Regions from separate parts of the Homo sapiens genome. Here region 1 is linked to region 2. Evidence: promoter capture Hi-C in 16 types of primary human blood cells and fetal thymus (Javierre and others, 2016). All regions are on one chromosome and are shown on one strand. The core of a region is centred on a gene start or on the middle of the fragment in contact, and the rest is flanking DNA. Distances in the headings are between cores, read along the strand shown. Region 1 overlaps CAT (catalase). Region 2 holds the start of FBXO3 (F-box protein 3).

Evidence for each region. Contacts are between HindIII fragments. The CHiCAGO score rates a contact against its expected background, and 5 or more counts as called.
Region 1: a contact is called between a fragment that was not itself captured here and the fragment with the promoter of FBXO3 in region 2, in 2 of 17 cell types (fetal thymus and total CD8 T cells). The highest score is 6.2, in fetal thymus.

The regions. Positions count from the first base shown.
Region 1 is chr11:34,443,914-34,449,554 of GRCh38, reverse strand. CAT (catalase) reads right to left here. Exons shown (of 13, transcript NM_001752.4): 2 at 192-363. Among named protein-coding and RNA genes, the nearest start is that of CAT, 7.8 kb to the right of the region's middle. The HindIII fragment of the contact is 272 bases long and covers 3,064-3,335 here.
Region 2 is chr11:33,770,741-33,776,567 of GRCh38, reverse strand. FBXO3 (F-box protein 3) reads left to right here and starts at 2,048. Exons shown (of 11, transcript NM_012175.4): 1 at 2,048-2,174; 2 at 5,738-5,827. The coding sequence starts at 2,071. FBXO3-DT (FBXO3 divergent transcript) reads right to left here and starts at 1,869. Exons shown (of 3, transcript NR_120550.1): 1 at 1,817-1,869; 2 at 1,205-1,314; 3 at 898-1,120. RefSeq lists silencers at 1,956-2,055, 2,516-2,585, 3,911-4,205 and an enhancer at 2,534-3,034. The HindIII fragment of the contact is 5,455 bases long and covers 904-5,827 here.

The DNA of each region.
Region 1 (5,641 bases), core at 1,950-4,449, 670 kb before region 2:
TATATATAATGTTTAACCTGAGGAAATAACCATCATTTATTTACTAATTTCCCTACTGCTGGATGTTTTTCCTTTCTCCCACAAATGGAGATTTGACACTTGTGTTAAAGGTCTTCCAATCCTTTGGGAAATAACACTTGACCCAGGTGCTGTGAAACAATCTTTTTACAGCAAATAAACACAGCACTTACCTGCTCCTTTAGCATGCACAACTCTCTCAGGAATTCTCTCTCGGTCAAAATGAGCCATTTCATCAGTGAAAACCACATCCTGAACAAGAAGGGGCCCACGGGGCCCTACTGTAATAACATTAAGTTTGTCTCCTACTGGGTTACCAGCTCCAGTGGTCAGGACATCAGCTTTCTACAGGAACACAGAAAGAAAGTGCAGGAGAGTTAGCACAATCAAACCTTTCATTTACACTGTCACGGGTACATAGCTTTGCAATGTTTATACCATCTGCCCTCTTTTTTAATTTCCTGTGTCCAAAGTACTAAAATCTGACAGGATGGGCCATTGCCTGAAACTTTTAGTGATGCCCCAGAAACCCTTGACAAATCTCAACACTAATCTGCTAAGAAACTTGCTCTGAAGAGCAGAAAGATGATTTTGGAGCCTGAAAATGTGCTCAGCACCTGCTCCAGAGAAAGCCACTGGGTTCTGCAAAGCTCCCAGTCAGAGAGGTGCCCAAAAGCGTCCTACAAGCTTAACAGTGAAATGTCCAATCCAGCAATGAGAAGACGGTCTCCAGGGAAGCTGTGCTGGTCAATACTTTACTCAGAACTTACAAACGCTTTATTACTGCCACGATCTTCAAGTGCGCTACCTTGTTTAGTGCATCTCAAGAAATGTACACCAGCTATTTGCAACATCTCTTTTCAATTAAAAAAAAAAAGTCAATGGCTTTCACTGTCACTAAAAGTAAACTGTTACTGGTAAGGTGGATTATAGTATTAATGTTTTAAAGATAGCAAATGTCTCTGAAATGGGATAGGTTATTTTACTGTAATAAATAATTAATTTTAATCCACCTGATTCTCCAATTTCAGTTACATCAGAAGACACTCAGCTGTCCCTCCTCTAGGGTTAGAGCGGCATTCTTCTAGCCCCACATGATCCTGGAAGCTCATAGCTTCATCTAGTTCCATGGTCAGAGAATACTTTTGACCACAGACAACTGCCTCTGCAGTGTCTTCCCCGGGTCACTGGAAATCAGGAGAGACACGTAAGTGACGCAAAGCTACGCCACCTCCACCTGGGAGAGGAACTCAACGCTGTCTATGACAAAACTCAACAGACCAACTTCACACACAGAGAAAAGCACTATTTTTAGTATTTCCACACACCTAGAGTGGAGTCTGTAGTTTTACTCCCCATGCATGTCTGTCCTGTACATTAAAATAAATTCCTGCCTCTTCTCTAGAAGGCAATACGGTGGGGAGTAGGCACTTACAAAACCACAAAAGATCTGTGAGCTGTTTGAAAAAAGATATTGAATAAAGGAGACCGTGCAATTTGCAAAACTAATAAACAAGACCCTCTCACACACTAGTAAATGCCCTTGCCACTAGAGTTATATCTTCATCCAAGTAGGAAGAGGCCAACATGGCAGCAGGGAGAAACTATGAGTGCCAGCACTAGAGCCTGGGTCCAACTTCCAGTTCTACCAATTACCAGCTATGTAGCTGCTGGTAAGTTACTTATTTATGAGTCTCCATTTTCATCTGCAAAATAGAATAATAAGTACCTCCTAAGGTTAACACATGAATTAAAAGAGTTAAATGTAAAATGCAAGCCACACATTCAACACATATATGCTGTCACTTCACTGGCTGTGAGAACATGACCTCGCAGCAGAAGGAGCAAAGCATTTGAAGTTTTATTTTTCTAGTAATCATGACAGATGCATACTCCTCCATCCACACTCTCTCACTCTACCATCTCTGTCCCTAAACCCATCTAGCAAAGCCCCTTCTAAACTGTCACAGTTTAAGGGTCCAATCAACACTTACCACCCAGTCACATCACTCTTTTGAAGATACATATGTTGCTAATACGTGTGACCCTCTGTGACGTGCTAATACGTGTTACCCTCTGTAGGTTTATTTTTAATTTAAAGTAGAAAATGAACCAGAAAAAAAATTTCTACTTTCTAAAGTAGAAAATGAACCAGAAAAAGAGCAATTTCACCTTTAGTTTAAACCTAAAGCCTTGGTTTTCAACCTTGGCAATGCACTAAAATCACCTGAGGAGCTTTTTAAAGCCTCCTGATGCCTGGGCCATCCCCCCTAGAGATGTCTGATAGAAGTGCCCTGGGTGAGGCCTGGGCTATTTTTAAATGACTCCTGTTCAAGCTAGGATTGAAAACCACTAACCTAGAACTATTGGGTGATAACAAAGTTAAAATAATTAGAGAGCCAGAGCAAACCAAATCTGTTCACTCTTTAAATGCTCTTTTCAACTTACAAACAAGGTATTTAAGGAAGCCTTTAAAAAATAAAGGGACATCCAGGCTGGGCGCGGTGGCTCACACCTGTAATCCCAACACTTCGGGAGGCTGCAGCAGGTGGATCACCTGAGATCAGGAGTTCGAGACCAGCCTGACCAACATGGAGAAACCCTGTCTCTACTAAAAATACAAAATTAGTACCAGGTGCAGTGGAGGGGTGACTGTAGTCCCAGCTACTCGGGAGGCTGAGGCAGGAGAATCGCTTGAACCCAGCAGGCGGAGGTTGCGGTGAGCTGAGATCGTGCCATTGCACTCCAGCCTGGGCAACAGCAGCGAAACTCCGTCTCAAAAAAAAAAAGGGGGGGACATCCCATAAAAGGTACAAGTATGAGAAAAGATACCAAGAAGCTCAGTAAAAGGAACGCTAAACAGATGAGAGTGTTATTTACATGCCAGCATTCTTAACGTGGGGAGGGAGCTGCCCCTAAGGCAGAGATGAGAGCACATCACATGTTCCCTTCTGGTTACCGGGTCAGGGTGATATGGTCAAGAATAAATACCACACCCAAAGGCAGCAGGTGCAGAGTTGGATAAATGAATAAAGTACTAAAGCTTGAGGTGGTCTTTCCTGATGACACTGACTATTAAGAGTGGGAATGCTGGAATTATGGCAGTCCTCCCTCCTGCCCAATGAAGGAATCCCCTCCTTAACATCAATCCTGTTAAGAAATGAAACCTGAGTTTTTAAGTTACAAATGGAGGCTTCAGAATCTCTTCCATTTCCCCACTCTAACAGTTAGATCAATTGTCCTCATTTATATAACAGCTTTCCCCACAAGCTCATGTATATACAATTTACCTTCAAAGCCAGTGGGGCAGGAAAGCTTCAACAGTCAGCAACAGAAAAGGGAAGCCAGGGAGCAAAAACTAGAAAGGAAAAGATCCCCCAACTTCAGGGGATGTTTAGCGCAACATTGGATAAGAGGAACTGATCTAAACTGAAAGATAGAGTATTAATATTAGAAGGTGAGGAGCAGGATGCGGTGTATTTAAGATGAAAATAATTAATGCAATGAAGATTTACTAGATGAAATGAGAGGGTGGGGCTAGAAAACGGACCACGCAAGTTATCTCACTTAAGCCTGTCAATAATCCAGAGATCAATATTATTAATCCCATTTAATGGGCGATACTACAAACTCAGAAAACTTAAGTAACTTTGCAGAGATGTCAGTGTTGTGGCACAGGTTTACTTGTTACATGTAACACGTAAGGACAGGCAAAGAGATTTCCTCCAACTTGCAATTATTGTTTTTAACTCAATGAATAACTTTAGAGCCAGAATATTTTTAAAGAGAGAAAAGCTTCTCTATGGCTGGATAATTTTAAGACCTCTCTCTGGAGAGGTCCTTGTTAACATGTTTACATCTTCCTGGCTGCTAGCTCCCATGACATCCATACGTACCTCTCCTGAACTGCTCTCTCTACCCTGCCCCACACCACTCATGAAGCAGGGCCAAGGGCATCTTCTTGTGCCCCATATAACAAAATATTGTAATTGCCTGTTTATGTCACTGTTTTTCTTTTTTTTTTTTTTTTTTTTTTTTTTTGAGATGGAGTCTCGCTCTATTGCCCAGGCTGGAGTGCAGTGGCATGGTCTCAGCTCACTGTAACCTCCACCTCCTCCCGGGTTCAAGCAATTCTCCCGTCTCAGCCTCCCAAGTAGTTGGGATTACAGGCGACCACCACCACACCCAGCTAATTTTTGTATTTTTAGTAAAGACAGGGTTCCATCATGTTGGCCAGGCTGATGATCTCAAACTCCTGACCTCAAGAAATCCGCCCATCTTGGCCTCCCAAAGTGCTGGGATTATAGGCGTGAGCCACCGCGCCCAGCCTGTCACTATTTTTCCTCTCTAGACTGTGTACTCCTTTTACATCTATATACCTGATCCCTAATACACTGCTCAATATACTAACAAACATAAAACAAATGTGTGTGGATTCAGCATGCAAATAAACTAAACCACGGACCAATATGATATGGCCAAGAGCCTTTCTAACAAGCAGGAGGAAGCAGCAACAGTCTATCCCTCTCCCTGCATCGCCCCTCCAAAAAATGAGAGAAATATTTTAATTTATAAATTCTGATCAAACACCTTTAGACACACTTGTTATGAAAACTGCCACAGAAATTAGCTTGGCTAAAAACTAGCACAATTATTAGAAGTAGGGACTTAAAGTAAAATTCTATTTTGACTTTGCTGCCTTTATAGGCTTCTTTTGGCCAGAGCTAATACATAAATGAAGAAGTTTTCCTGGGAGGAGTAAGGTTGGCTTCATCTGGTGAAATATTTTATCAACATATTACACTTTCCACTTAGTAGTTCCCTTCACTCACAGAAGTTTCAAGAACCTAAACATATTCTTCCACTTTTAATTAAAAGATTGGTTAATGCAAATTGCCCATCAGTCCCAGAGGAGTCATAATGACGTCTTTTCATTCTGTGATAAAGAATGTGCCTAGCGTTTTCTAGCAAATAACTGCCTAACATTCTCCATTTATTCAACAAAGATTCAAGTGCCTACAACGTATACACCCACGTACAGGAAACCAAAGACTGTCCTGACCTTCAAATTTCTTGGTCTGTGGGAAAATAATAAGGGTGGTCTAGATATTGACTGCTGTGGAAGCTAAAGCAATTCCGTCTTAGATACTGATCCACCATGCTGACTTCTGATTAACTCCAGTTTTAAGATTTCCAGTTTATCTATTATTCCTTGTGAAAGAGCCCCTATTTACTATAAATCCTGCCCTGAGGTCAAACAACCTTGACATTATCATACTTCAGTCATGCCATACCTCCCTTCTGAATCGCCCTTCCCTATGGTATTAAGCCCTGGGTCTGAGGGGTAATGGTATGGGATCCACCATCTTGTCTCGCCAACACGCAAGACACAGACATGGTTTCTGGTCCTAAGTCCCTACTAAACATTTCTTTCTGAGAAACTTGATTTGTCAGCCTCTTTCTTTGGCCTCTCAGCTTCCTCAGACTTTGGGGGTAGGTTTGCATAGACCTACCCACCATGCAAAAGCTAAAAAAAAGAAATGAAACCTTAAAAATTTCTGTCCCATCTCCCATAGTCTCTCCCACTGCACATAATGACTTAGCGATTCCATACCTAGGTATA
Region 2 (5,827 bases), core at 799-3,298:
GTGCTGCGCATTGTTTTTTCTTTTTGCATCAGGCTCTAATATGGCTTACATGGCACTGTGGGATCCTGTTTTTGTTTAAGAGTTTGGTATTTTGTTCACTGTGAATTTTTTTTGCATTAATTTTTATTTTTAAAAATATTGCATTAAAATGTTATTTATTTGATTATTCAGTTTTTTGGCACCTCTTCTTAAATTTGTGCCCCAAGCAAGTAGCTTTCTTGCCTCACCTTAGTTCTGGCCCTGACAGTTTGGTAGCTTCATACTTTGTCTTCTGCATTAGGTCATAGCTGCACCAAGTCCAAGTGCAATAGGACAGCAGAAGCAAATGCAGTGTACCTGAAACTCCTACCAGCTTTTGGATTTAAAACAGGTGGCCCATCTGAAGTAGAAAATGGAGACAAACATAAATCAGGATCAAATACCTTTACAAGCATTTGTCTATGTAAAAAGGTATGGTTCCCTTGTAAACAGAAATGATTATTCTGTCTTCATTCATCCATTCAACCTGAATTTAAACTTTCTAGTTGTTGAATAACTTGCTAAGCCCTGAAATTAGAAAGATGAGTCAGACTGAGAGTTTACAGTTTGACGAGAGAGACACAGAACAAGTACTTGAAATCCAATTCAATAAATGTTCTTCTAAGCATATGCATAAACAATTTGGAAGCACAGAGATGTAGGCAGAGTTTTTTGTTGCTGTTGTTCTGTTTTGTTGGCTGGGTGGCAGGGGTTATAACTATTAAGCAAAACCATAAATAGAAGGCATTAATGGTATGAAGAATGGAGGAAATGGATTTTTTTGGGGCGGGGCATATCACTTCCACTCTTCCAAATAATTGAGAGAAACTTTCTCCAGGATATGGAAATGTTTGGAGAACTTAGTGACTGATGCATGTATAAGCTTGGAAAATTAACATTTATTGAGTATCTGGCCAGGCACTTTACATAAAGCGTTATCGCCATCCTTAGTTCACCAGAGGAGGGGTGGTTTTAGAGATGAGGGACAGTCTCAGAGAACTTAGGCGTAACTACGCCAGCATTTCACTAGTAGTGAAATAAATGACGGGCGTGTGAAGTCCAGGTCTGTCTGGATTCCCCAAAGCCCCTTACACCATACTACCTTTGGAAAAGCAATGGAAAAGAAGAAATCAGGCAAGTGATGTATGGACCCATTATACTTCCCCCACTCTCATTTTAATATCACCTTGGCAAAGCTGAAGAGCAGACATCTTCGTGCCTCCATCAGTTATGCCCTCTGGGAGTCTCAGTTCATCCCTTCACACGCGGGATACTTAACTCTGCGGGATCTAAACCCTGGCCAAAATAAATTTTAAAGCTGGAAAAAATCCACACTGTACCCTTTGCATTGCCCTAATAGGCTGAAAATAGCCATGATAACCAAATTAAGGGACAGCGGCTGAGACTCAGACTCACTCCTTGTACACATTTTACTTAGGAAGGCGGGGAGGGGCGTGAAGTTAAGCCCTCAACAATTATTTCCTTAATTTGGGAGAAGGGCCTTCAGCTGGCGTCCCTGGCTGATTCTCAGCTCTGCTCTTGCTGAGTGGACAAGTCTCGGAGCGGCCCTGCTGTGTGCGGGGGACAAGCGGGGTGGGGAAGGCTGAGCGGGGAAAACGAGGGGTTCTCGGGTTGGAAAACAAAGAGAAGGAATGGATTTGGGGACCAAGGGCGTGGAGGAGTGTCAGATTTTGAGCGAGGCTTCCTGCATACTGAGTGTAAAATTTCGCAGGAGGAGTTGGGCAGACCGAGGCAGATTTGGCAACAAAAGGGTCCCGGGCTGGGCAAGTTTACGAACCGGGATGCGAGAACAGAGCTGGAGAGATTTGACGCGGAGCGCGAAGAAAGCGGGCTGAACTCGCACTGCGCCGCTGGCTCCCGGCTAGCGGGCGGGGTCTCCAGGGAGCCGCACCTCAGCCCACCCTGAGGGCGGGGCTGGCCCGGCGGTTACATAACAAACCTGTGAGAGCGGCTGGGGGCGGTTCGGGCGCTGGTGGGGGCGGGGCAGGGGCGGGGCCAGGGCGGGGCCAGACCTGCACCGGGCCAGGCAAGATGGCGGCCATGGAGACCGAGACGGCGCCGCTGACCCTAGAGTCGCTGCCCACCGATCCCCTGCTCCTCATCTTATCCTTTTTGGACTATCGGGATCTAATCAAGTAATGGGACGACACGCATGGCAGGGGTGGGGGCATGGGGAGAGGAGGCGGTGAGGCAGGGGGAAAGGGGGTCGGGGCCGCTGACAGGACCCGAGCTTCCGCGACACCAGAAGGTGACGCCAGGGCCGCCCTCATCCTGCGGAGCCACCGGGGACCGGGGCGAGACGGGGGCGGAAAGGGCCTCGCCCTGAGTCTTCCTCCTGTCCTGGGCCCAGGTATGAGAAGCGACGAGATATCTCTCTCCCAGGCCTCGGTGAGGCCCACTTGCAAGAGAAGGAGGTAGTGGCCCTCGTGCCGCACCGCCGCGCTCCGCGGACCCCCGCTGGCCCCGCAGGTGCCCGCCCGGTTGGGGTCAGTCCCTGCTGCTGTGTAAAAGCCCCTGTCCCGGCCAGGCGCTCTTCTCTGCTGGGTCCGGGGCCTGCGGAGTCTGGCGCCGGGGTGGGCAGGTGGGTGAGCGAGAGGAGAAGATAGGCAACCCCTTACTCCCCTGGCGCGACTTCCCCAGCGCCAGAATCGCTGTCCGGGCTCACTTTCGGACTTCAGTGCGTGAGAATTGTTTTGCTGTCAGCATTGCTCCTTACGGTTCGATGTTGGATTTTATGTTTTGGTACTGACTTCCGGTGATGCCATACCGGTGACTATCTTTTCTCCTGGACACCTTGGGTTTCCCACATTACTAGCATCTGTTCCAGAAATAAACACCGGTTGCTGATAAGGGTGGTTCAATGCCCAGTTTCTTCAGAACTTGGGACTGTCTGGGGTGGTGGAAGAAATGGCGCTGCCAGCCCGCCCCCCAGCTGTCAGGATTGTTTACACCCTTGACAGGGGGTGGCATGGCTGTGAGTTTCCTGTGCTACCGTATATATTTGCAGAGGATGCAAAGTCGCCCTCTTAGGATAGGTGGGCGAGATTTGTTTTGTGTTTGGATTAACCATTAGATTCTAGCCATTTGATGATTGTGCCCTGTGTTATTAGAGGTCTTTTTATAAATACAGATTTCTTGGAGCTACAGATAGTTGTTGGCCTAGCTAAGTGGTGATAGAGAGATACCTCAAGTTTTTGGTCACTACCTGTACTGGTCGCTACCTGTACCTGCTAGCAATTTTATTTTTCTAGAAAATACTTACAATTTAACTAACAGTCTCCAACTTTTGATTGCTGCCAGAGTAATCTTTCCAAGACACATCTGGTTGTCATTCTCCTTAAAACCTGTGACACCCCTATGTTTATAGACTATAACCTAAACTTCTGGGGCATTGAAAGCTCTTATCATCTGGCTTGTATATCTAAGGTCCTCCAGGACTTATTTCTCCACCACTATCACATTTGCACCATCCATTCTAACCAAATCAGACCTCTGCCAGCATACAACACACTTGCACTTTCTTTTTTTTTTTTTTTCCTGTGGCTCAAGCTCTCGACCTTGCCTGGAATGCCTTGCCTACCTCTTCTCAACTTGGCAAGGTGGAGAAGATGCCCTCTCTACCTTCTTCCTGCAGAATTGATTTGCCATGTCAGGTAGATGGCGTGCTTCTTGATTGTAAGGGCTGCCTTGCTTATCTTCCTATTCAAAGATTTTTTTTTCCCCGAGGGCTTGCTATGTGCCAGTCTGTTAAGTGTTGAGGGTACAGTAGTGAACAACGCAGATAAGGCAACTCTTATGGAGCTTACAGTCCAGTGGGCAAGCGCATAATTGCAAGAGGTACTAAGTGCTGTGAAGGAAATAGATTGCTCTGTTAAGGAATAGGAAGTGAGAAGTGATCAAATCGGAAGGAGCTGCCATATATGAAGCAGGGCATATGCAGTTCTGGCAGAGGGAAAAGTATGTTCAGAGATTGACGGGACTGCTGAACGGTACTGTTCAACAGCATGGCCTGGTGGAAGATACAGAAGGCTGGCGTTGCTGGAGGTAGGGAGTGACTCACAGACAGTGATGAGATGAGGGTGGTGAGATCATGCAGGACCTTGGGAACCAAGGTGAGGAAGTAAGAGTTTACTTTAAATGCTTTAGGTAGTAATCACAATTTTAAACAGAAGTGACATGATCCCTCTGTAAATGTCTGTGGAAATAAATTGAGTTGAATACCATTTGAATTTTATCTACAGAAAAGTATCCAGTGTATTGCAGCTTTTTTCCTGCACCATACAGCCCAATTTTGTCAAGGGTCTAGTCTAGTGATAAGCTCTGAAGTTTTTGGTATTATTTGCTGAACTGGATTGGGTTGGATTGGATTAGTACACTGGAATCATGTAGCATCAGTTGCCTAGTTTGAATTGAGATGATCTGATACCCTCTCCATTTCAGAGTGATTTATTCTGAAATGGAGTGAATAAATGCCACACTGTGCGTCAGAATGACCTGTGCATCAGAATGGCCTGTGGCACTTTTTAAACATACAGATGCCTGAGGTACAGATCTCAGTCCAAACCGACTGGATCAGAATCTCTAGAACAGTAGTTTTCACTCTCGATGTGCATTGAATTCATCTTTCATGCATATTCCAGATTCTTTTATGTCATTTAGCTCCTAGGGCAGTGGAGGGACAGGAATCAAGAAGAGGGTATGGAAACTGAATGCACAAAACTGGAGGGATTCCTATGTTTACAAAAGTTAATTTGGGCATCTCCTGAGCTTGGCAGAAAAGGATGAGGATGATGTTTCTGTAAAATCTGAAAATCAAACAAAGGCAATTTTGTTTACTATAGATGGTTTTTAACACACCTTAGTCATGGCCTTGACAAACCTGATGTGATTTAAGATTCTGTTGATAGCTATTGCCCAAGTGAGATCTTTGAATACCTACTTTCAATTAATATAACTTGTAATTTCTCTCTGGAAAGGATAGAGTCCTAATCTTAGGTTCATTCTTTTTACAAATTAATTATGTAGGGTAGAATTTACAGGATTGCAACACTGTTGTGTTAGAAATCTTTATATAGTAAGAAAGTTATTTGCTTCTAACATTCGATGTTTTGGGGCAGCTGATAGCTTGTGTAGCCATGACTATTGAGTCAGAACTGTTACGATTCAGGCACCCTCTATAGGTGGACTTTCCAGTAGTTGCTTTAATGAAAACGTGGTTTTTGTGGCAATACTTTTTTCCTTTAAGTAAAAAATTTTAAAAAACAAAAATAAAAAGTCTGTGTATTTAGTAGCATACATCTTACAGATCTTGGGAAAAAACCCCAAGTCCCTTTGTTTATGACTAAATAACTTTCTTCCTATATGTAGAAATGAGTATTGTCCTGATAATAAGCATAGGACAACTCCTTGACTTGAGATTAACTCCAATGGCATATATGGTCTGTAGATATTTTTGTGAAAAATTACAGTTGTAGATGTTTCAGGGTTTATTTGTGAACTCAGTTTCACTACTAACAAGGCAATTATACTACTTAACATGTTAAACAGGTTTTAGAAAATAGTTTTGTAATTATAAGGGTAATAAGTGAAAAGTAAGAGAAACAAAAGGCATAAAACAAAACAATGAATATTTTAATCTTTATTTTTAAATTGTTTTCTTACTTTTTTAAATACTATCGGTGAATCTGGTTACTGCCAGCTGTTGTTATGTCAGTCGAAGACTTAGCCAGCTATCAAGTCATGATCCGCTGTGGAGAAGACATTGCAAAAAATACTGGCTGATATCTGA